Regions from separate parts of the Homo sapiens genome. Here all the other regions are linked to region 1. Evidence: promoter capture Hi-C in 16 types of primary human blood cells and fetal thymus (Javierre and others, 2016). All regions are on one chromosome and are shown on one strand. Each heading gives the region's core, a stretch centred on a gene start or on the middle of the fragment in contact. The rest is flanking DNA. Distances are from core to core; before and after follow the strand shown.

Region 1 (2,700 bases), core at 72-2,571:
CCGAAGTTTCCCCGTGAGCTCATCGCTACTGCCCACTGAATGCTTCGTTTTGCAAACAGAAACGAAGTAGGAAAAAAATAAGTTCCAGCCTAGATCTGCCAAACAGGGGTCCCCCATCTAAAGTGGGCGGGCAAGAGAATTGCCAAAACACATCGGCTACAGTCACTTTCAAGTTTCTTGCAAAAAAGCGAAGACCAACATCCCAGAGAGTGACTCATCTGGGGGCTTTGTAAGCGGACTTTGTTTGCTCTCTCCACTTGGTTGGAGGAAACGTTCGAGGTGGGCGAGAAAGAAAAGCGCTTCGGGAGAAGGTCGGGCCTCCAGGAGTCCCGGCCCCCACCGCTCCCCGCCTGCCCCGGGCCGGCCCGGCTGGGGGATTCCCCAGGCTGAATGGGACGGCGGGAGAGCTGGACAGAGGGAGAAGGTGTCAGCTGCCAAGGCTCGGCTGAGACTTGGGAAAAAAAAATGTAAATCCAGTGAAAAAGTTTGGGGAGGGGATACACACTCACAACATCCGCCCCCCCAACTGGGTAAACACGAGAGGGGTGGTGGCGGTGAGGGGGAGTGGCGGGGAACCTGGGGATACCCGCTATTCGCGGGGACACGGGAGGGGGTCAGAAAGTCAACACACGCACGCACACACACAAAAAGACGAGGAAGGTGAAAAGAGAACAAGCGAAAGATGGATGAAGTGGCGGGGAGGAGACTCAGGGCAGGACCTGGGGACCTCCTCACCCCACCGTGGGGGACCGGGCCGGCACGCAATGGCCCAGCAGCCCGCGCTATCCAGCGGCCCGGCGCCCTCCTTTCTCTGGGCCGCGGGGTGGTGACAGCGACCGGCCTCCTCCCTTCCCCTTCAGAGCGAGAGGGAAGGGTGTGTGTGAGTGTGTGTGTGTGCGTGTGTGTGCTGGGGGGCCCCCGGGTTCACCCCGCGGCCTGCTATCTCCCCCGCACCCCGTGAGGCCGCCTCCTTTCACCTCAGCAGCCCCGCTTCGCCGGGGCGGGCGGGCGGAAAAACAAAGGGGGATTAAGGCCGGGCCGGAGAGCGGAGCCGGGAGGGAGGGGAGGAGGAGCGCCCGCCCGCCCGCCAGCCCGGGGCCCGGCCCCCCTGTCCCCCCCGTGCCCCCCCGGGGGGGCCCCCAGTACCTGGAACAGGAACGCGGTCCAGTTGGCCTCCATGGCTGCGGCGGCCGACCCCCCTCCTCCCCACTCCCCCCGCTCGGGGAGCCTCCTCAGCCGGAGGAGGCGACAACAAAGCGGCGGCGGCGGCGGCGGCAACGGCAGCGGCGGCTCCTCAACATGGCAGCGCCGAGCGCGGCCACTTCCGGTAACCTCCGGGACGCACCACCGCGGCGGCGAGCGCGGGCGGGGGGGGAGCCCCGGCCCGGCCGCCGCCGCCCCCAGTCGCCCGGACCCCCTCTGGGCGTCCCCGCTGCCGGCTCGCCGCCTCGGAGCTCAGCCAGTGCCCGCTGGCGGTGGGGTCAGGGCCCCCGCGGGGGGGCTGGGGTGGGGCCCGGGGCGGGGATGGGGCGCGGCGTCCCCCCCCGCGGGGGTGTGTGGTGCTGCGGTCCGTGGCTCAGGCAGCTGGAGCAGGGGGAGCTCAGGAGAGAAGATGGAGGACGCCAGGGTCTGGCGCTGGCCCGCTGGGCACAGCTGGGCCGTCTCCCGTGACTCAGACACGGTGTCCAGCACCGTCGCGTCCCTGTTAGACCCTCAGCGGAGGGCACAGGCCACGGCGGACACTCGGCTCTTCAGTCGCTCATGCACAGCATGGTCCCCACCTCCAAACTGGGGGAAGCCCTTTCGACTTCGAGCCTCTCTTCCTTTTGGCATTTCCTCCCCGGCCGGCTAAGCCCTCTGCGCTCTCGCTATGATATGCATCTCATGGCGAGATGGCCTTCCAACTCAAGCAGGGAATCCCACTGGGGTGCAGCCTCAGATCCTCTCAGTGTGGAGGGAAACACTTCCCACGCGTAGAGATGTCATTACTGGGTTATTCTTGGGTGAAGGGCTGAGCCTCCCCATCCTCCCCTTCACTCCAAGATAGGATGTGAAATTCTATCCCAACACCCCTCCTCTCCCGCCAAAAATAAAAACAAGTGAGATAGTATAGACAAATTATTTTAGTCCTTTAGTACAGTCTGTTTCCTCCTTCACCCCCAGAACAAAAATCGAACTTCTGGTTGGACAGCGTCAGATGTCACTGAGGTGACCCCAGCCTGTTTGCAGTTCCAAGTCTTCCGTGTAGGCGTCACTGCTACTGGAACTTTGTAGATGAGGAGCCTGTATGATGATGTCCTGAACATTTCTATCCTTTCCTCACACAGAGGGAAGCTACTGGGAATATCAGAGACAAGCTATTATTAAACAAGTGTCTCTAGTCCAAGACATCTCCTGTGGCAGGGAAATGAGGGGGCAGGCTGTATCAGTGATATTTTTATAAACTCTGGTTTTAGAAAAAATTCTTCAGATGGACGCATTATTTTAAGACTTTAACATTTTCCAAAACCAACTGAATCTTATCCCCTCCATTTATCCCCCTCCAGACACTTCTAATCAAGGTCACCATCTCCAACTTCCCCCATAGACAATAAAAATATGGCTGGAGAATTCTACTGTAATAGAAAACCAAGGAGATATAGTAATTTGACAGTGTGTTTCCTTTCCATCCACTAGACAAGAATACCCCCTCCCATTCTT
Region 2 (2,740 bases), core at 181-2,680, 140 kb before region 1:
AACTCCTGACCTCAAGTGATCCACCCGCCTCGGCCTCCTGAAGTGCCAGGATTACATGTGAGAGCAAAGCACAAATGATTTTAATGTATCAATGAACCACAAAGTGCATGCAATGGGTCTGAGAAGAAAGGTGCTGAAAAAGCATTTAATCTCCTCAAAGATCTCATGTTGTATGCCGAAAATATCCAAGTAGAACAAGAACATACTTGTTCTGCTACTTTAAATGAGTGTTGGTGTTGGGGGTCCCGGGGTGAAAGCCTGGGCCCCAATTCGGAACATAATGACCTTATAAATTCCATTTTCTAGCATCCTGAAACAACAGTAAGAATAAGGGATGTGTATCAAAGTCAATTAGGCACACTCATTGGTATAAATATTTAAGAGAAAAAGGAACTAGACAAATTCAAGGTACTAAAAGCTAATTAACATCAGTATTCAAGGGGAGGGGCTTTGTCAGTAAACTCCCAGTGAGAGATTTACCACTTACTTAGATCTTACATAAATGTATAGGGATGCTAAATGTGGCCATAGAAGTGGTTTCTAGCCCACTGTTCCTGAAATTGTTTCAGAAAACTAATAAAATTCTGATGGCCATTCTCCAAACAGTCCCAGTCCTGGCCCTCCACCATTCCTCTCCAAGGAATTTTCTTTCGTTTCTCTCTACCAGCCTCATAGTTCATCTGTCCATTAATCCATTAGCTTCTTCATTCAAGAGACGATTAATAAGCAACTTATATGCCACACAATGGGCTAGGCACTGAAGTTACAAGAATGAATTTGACAATGCCTGGCCCATGACAGTGCTTAATGAATGTTTGTTATTGAATAAAGACAGGGCATTTGGAATGTAGAGCTATTAAAGACAGGCTAAGGCCACAACAGGGGCAGTATGAACAAAATTCAGGGCACACAAAAGGGGAAACATGAAAACAGAAAAGTAGTCCCAAAGAAGTGTGACATCTTTGTTTTTTTTTTTTGTATGAAAAAAATAAGGTGGGGGGCAGCCCCCACCCAGCCAGCCGCCCCGTCTGGGAGGGAGGTAGGGGGCAGTCCCTGCTCCGCCAGCCGCCCCGTCCGGGAGGGAGGTGGGGGGCAGCCCCCGCCTGGCCAGCCGCCCCGTCCGGGAGGGAGGTGGGGGGTAGCCACCGCCCGACCAGCCGCCCCGTCCGGGAGGGAGGTGGGGGGCACCCCCGCCCGGCCACTGCCCCGTCCGGGAGGTGGGGGGCACCTCTGCCCGGCCGCCCCGTCTGGGAAGTGAGGAGCCCCTCTGCCCGGCCGCCACCCCATCTGGGAGGAGTACCCAACAGCTCATTGAGAACGGGCCATGATGACGATGGGGGTTTTGTCGAATAGAAAAGGGGGAAATGTGGGGAAAAGAAAGAGAGATCAGATTGTTACTGTGTCTGTGTGGAAAGAGGTAGACATGGGAGACTCCATTTTGTTCTGTACTAAGAAAAATTCTTCTGCCTTGGGATGCTGTTAATCTATAACCTTACCCCCAACCCCCTGCTCTCTGAAACATGTGCTGTGTCCACTCAGGGTTAAATGGATTAAGGGCGGTGCAAGATGTGCTTTGTTAAACAGATGCTTGAAGGCAGCATGCTCGTTAAGAGTCATCACCACTCCCTAATCTCAAGTACCCAGGAACACAAACACTGCGGAAGAACGCAGGGACCTCTGCCTAGGAAAACCAGACACCCTTGTTCACATGTTTATCTGCTGACCTTCCCTCCACTATTGTCCTATGACCCTGCCAAATCCCCCTCTCCGAGAAACACCCAAGAATGATCAATAAATACTATAAAAAATAAAAAATAATAAAAATAAATTAAAAATAAAAAATAAAAAAAAGAAAAAATAGAGAACTTTAAAGATATTTTTAAGAATGTTGCTAGGAGGCCGGGCACGGTGGCTCACACCTGTAATCCCAACACTTTGGGAGGCAAGGCGGGCGGATCACGAGGTCAGGAGTTTGAGACCAGCCTGACCAACATGGTGAAACCCCATCTCTACTAAAAATACAAATTAGCCAGGCATGGTGGCGTGAGCCTGTAATCCCAGCTACTCAAGAGGCTGAGGCAGGAGAACAGCTTGAACCCGGGAGGTGGAGGTTGCATGGGGCTGAAATTACACCACTGCACTCCAGCCTGGGTGGCAGAGCGAGACTCCATCTCAAAAAAAAAAAAAAAGAATGTTCCTAGGCAACCATTAGGAGCACATTTTCTGTGACTATTTAAGTTTTGGAAAAAAAGAGAATAAAGAGGCCGGGCGCGGTGGCTCACGCCTGTAATCCCAGCACTTTGGGAGGCCGAGGCAGGCGGATCACGAGGTCAGGAGATTGAGACCATCCTGGCTAACACGGTGAAACCCTGTCTCTACTAAAAATACAAAAAATTAGCCAGCTGTGGTGGTGGGCGCCTGTAGTCCCAGCTACTCAGGAGGCTGAGGCAGGAGAATGGCATGAACCCGGAAGGCAGAGTTTGCAGTGAGCCGAGATTGCGCCACTGCACTCCAGCCTGGGAGACAGAGTGAGACTCCATCTCGAAAAAAAAAAAAATACTTAGATCAGAAAAAAACAAAACTTTTTTTTTTTTTGGAGACAGGGTCTCCCTCTGTTGCCCAGGCTGGAGTGCAGTGGTGCACTCTCAGCTCACTGCAACCTCCACCTTCTAGTTTCAAGCGATTCTCCCACCTCAGCATCCAAAGTAGCTGGGACTACAGGTGCCCACCACCAAGCCCG
Region 3 (2,777 bases), core at 176-2,675, 160 kb before region 1:
TGTACAAAGAAACAGGGATAATAATGTTCCCTGCAACATCCTAGAGACAGCAAAAAAAAAAAAAAACTGGAAACAACTGAAACCTCCAAGAGGAAAATAAATATATAACAATAATAGCCAACTCTCTTTTTAAAAAATCACTTTTTGTTTTTGAGACAGGGTCTCAGCTCTGTCACCCAGTCTTTACTGCAGTGACACAATCATAGCTCACTGCAGTTCAAGGGATCTTCCCAAGTAGCTGAGACTACAGGTGTCCATCACCACACCAGGCTAATCATTTTGTTGTTGTTGTTGTTGTTTTTATTTATTTATTTTTATTTTTATTTATTTATTTATTTTGAGACGGAGTTTTGCTCTTGTTGCCCAGGCTGGAGTGCAATGGCGTGATCTCAGCTCACCACAACCTCTGCCTCCTGGGTTCAAGCGATTCTTCTGCCTCAGCCTCCCGCGTAGCTGGGATTACAGGCATCCACCACCACGCCCGGCTAATTTTTGTATTTTTAGTAGAGACGGGGTTTTACCATGTTGGCCAGGCTGGTCTCAAACTCCTGACCTCAGGTGATCCACCCGCCTTGGCCTCCCAAAGTGCTGGGATTACAGGCGTGAGACACCATGCCCAGCCAAAAATCCTTCTAATGTTTATTTTTTTAATTATGAAAATAACTCTTTTTAATTTATTTGCATAGTGTTTTTATTCTACTACATACATAAAAATAGAAGCTACAGGTGAATTAAGTTTATTAATGTGGTCTTAAACATCTTCCTGTTCAGTCTGACATGTCTGAATCCCTTTCAGACTCAGTGTCTTTGATGTCTGTGCTTTTCTACATACCTTCCTGTTCTGTTCCATGAAGGACATTAGTGATATGGCATTTCTTAAAAGAATGTTCCATTAGTGCTTATGAGACCAAGTCTTACACTATATACCAGGAATATTTTCAATGCTTTTCACCTATTAAGTCATTTATTTTCGCCTCTATTAGATAGGTGGTATCATTAGCCCCATTTTACAGATGAAGAAACAGAGACGAGAAGAGGAGGTTAAGTCACTTGCCCAAGGTCACAGAACTAGTAAGTGGCAGGGTTGGGGTTTGAACCAAGGCAGCCTGGCCCCAGAGCCATACTCTTAAAGCCTACATATTCATACATCTAGTCTTAGAATAGAATATTGTACAGCAGTGAAAATGAATTAACTAGAGTTACATGTGGCAAAACAGGTGAGTTTCAAAAGAAAACTCTTGAGTAAAAAGATCAAATTACAGAGGGATACATGCAGTATAAAGCCACTTTTATAATATTTTTAAATGTGTAAAACAATACTGTATGTTTATTATAGATACATACGTTTGTAGAAAAAATTATTATTTTTTAAGTAGGGAAGATAAACACCAAGTCCAGGAAAATATCCACCACGAGAGTAGGGACAAAGAAGAAAGGGATCAGGAATGGATACAAGAAGCTCATGTCTTAACCTGGGTGATGGGTAAGTAGATATTTGTTGTAGAGTCTCTGTAATTTTTGAATGCCTGAAATATTTCATAATAATCAAAAATAATGCCATCTCCTACTCCAGAGCTGCATGTAACTGTAAATTAAGCTCTGAATTTCCCCACAGCCAAAGCTAAGAGGGAAACTAAGACACCAAATTTGCCAAGACCGCAGAAGCAAACCACCCAAGTTGTTCAAAAGCAGCACAGTTTTTTATTCCTTAAGCTAAAACGTGAAAGATATTTATCCCACGGGTCTTCATAGAGGAAAAAATGGTCAGTAACATTCCCACAGAAAAAAACAAAAGTATGCCTCATACAACCATTTCCTAGCATCCCTCAATGCATTGTAACAGCTTAATGTCAAAGCAGGCTTCAGAAGCAGCAGCTCAGCTGGGCGAGGTGGCTCACACCTGTAATCCCAGCACTTTGGGAGGTCAGGAAGGAGGATCGCTTGACCCCAGGAGTTCAAGACCAGGCTGGGCAACAAAGAAAGACCCCATCTGTACAAAAAAATTGAAAAATGAGACAGGGTCTCATACACCTGTAGTCCCAGCTATTCAGGAGGCTGAGGCAGGAGGATCGCTTGAGCCTGGGAAGTAGAGGCTACCGTGAGCTTTGATCATGCCACTGCACTCCAGCCTGGGTGACATAGCGAGACCCTGTTTCCAAAAGAAAAAATTAAAAATAATTAAATTTTAAAAAAGAAGCAGCTGCTCTATAAAGGGAACTGTCTTTATTGCCAGCTTCTGGGACATTTCCAGAGAGAACAGACCTTCATGAGCAAGAGGGAAGCAGGCCGACTTGACCACAGTAGCCTGGGGACTGACACAGCCTTAACTCTGGGAAGGACCCTCCTTCAGATTCCTGCTCAGGGGCCTGGGACCCATAGCTGCAGACAAGCCATAAAGATATCCTACAGTCCTGGGATCTGAAAGCATTCACCCTCTGTTTAGTTCTTCTCATGATCACTCAGACTTCTTGGACCCTGAGTCCATCCAGCTGTCTGTTGAAACCATTGGCTCTTACCTTCATCTTACAAAGGCGGGAGCCAGCTAGGCACCGTGGCTCACACCTGTACTCCAGCACTTTGGGAGGCCGAGGCGGGCGGATCACCTGAGGATGGGAGTTAGAGACCAGCCTGACCAACATGGAGAAACCCTGTCTCTGCTAAATATACAAAATTAGCCGGGCCTGGTGGCACATGCCTGTAATCCCAGATGCTCAAGAGGCTGAGGCAGGAGAATCGCTTGAACCCAAGAGGCGGAGGTTTCGATGAGCAGGGATCCC

Evidence for each region. The method cuts DNA at HindIII sites, captures the fragments that hold promoters and counts their contacts. A CHiCAGO score of 5 or more calls a contact.
Region 2: a contact is called between a fragment that was not itself captured here and the fragment with the promoter of VEZF1 in region 1, in 4 of 17 cell types (neutrophils, megakaryocytes, monocytes and 1 more). The highest score is 9.1, in neutrophils.
Region 3: a contact is called between a fragment that was not itself captured here and the fragment with the promoter of VEZF1 in region 1, in 1 of 17 cell types (neutrophils). The highest score is 5.3, in neutrophils.

What each region holds. Positions count from the first base shown.
Region 1 is chr17:57,986,933-57,989,632 of GRCh38, forward strand. VEZF1 (vascular endothelial zinc finger 1) reads right to left here and starts at 1,322. Exons shown (of 6, transcript NM_007146.3): 1 at 1,147-1,322. The coding sequence starts at 1,179. It overlaps LOC101929185 (a long non-coding RNA gene), which reads left to right and starts at 1,178. Exons shown (of 1, transcript XR_001752716.3): 1 at 1,178-2,700. It also overlaps a transcript of SRSF1 not described here. RefSeq lists silencers at 585-654, 735-1,214, 1,285-1,564 and enhancers at 1,715-1,764, 1,785-1,924. The HindIII fragment of the contact is 4,468 bases long and covers 1-2,700 here.
Region 2 is chr17:57,845,119-57,847,858 of GRCh38, forward strand. All of the region lies in intron 2 of MRPS23 (mitochondrial ribosomal protein S23), which reads right to left. Among named protein-coding and RNA genes, the nearest start is that of MRPS23, 3.6 kb to the right of the region's middle. RefSeq lists an enhancer at 1,114-1,721. The HindIII fragment of the contact is 4,492 bases long and covers 1-2,740 here.
Region 3 is chr17:57,825,006-57,827,782 of GRCh38, forward strand. No RefSeq gene overlaps it. Among named protein-coding and RNA genes, the nearest start is that of MRPS23, 24 kb to the right of the region's middle. The HindIII fragment of the contact is 8,525 bases long and covers 1-2,777 here.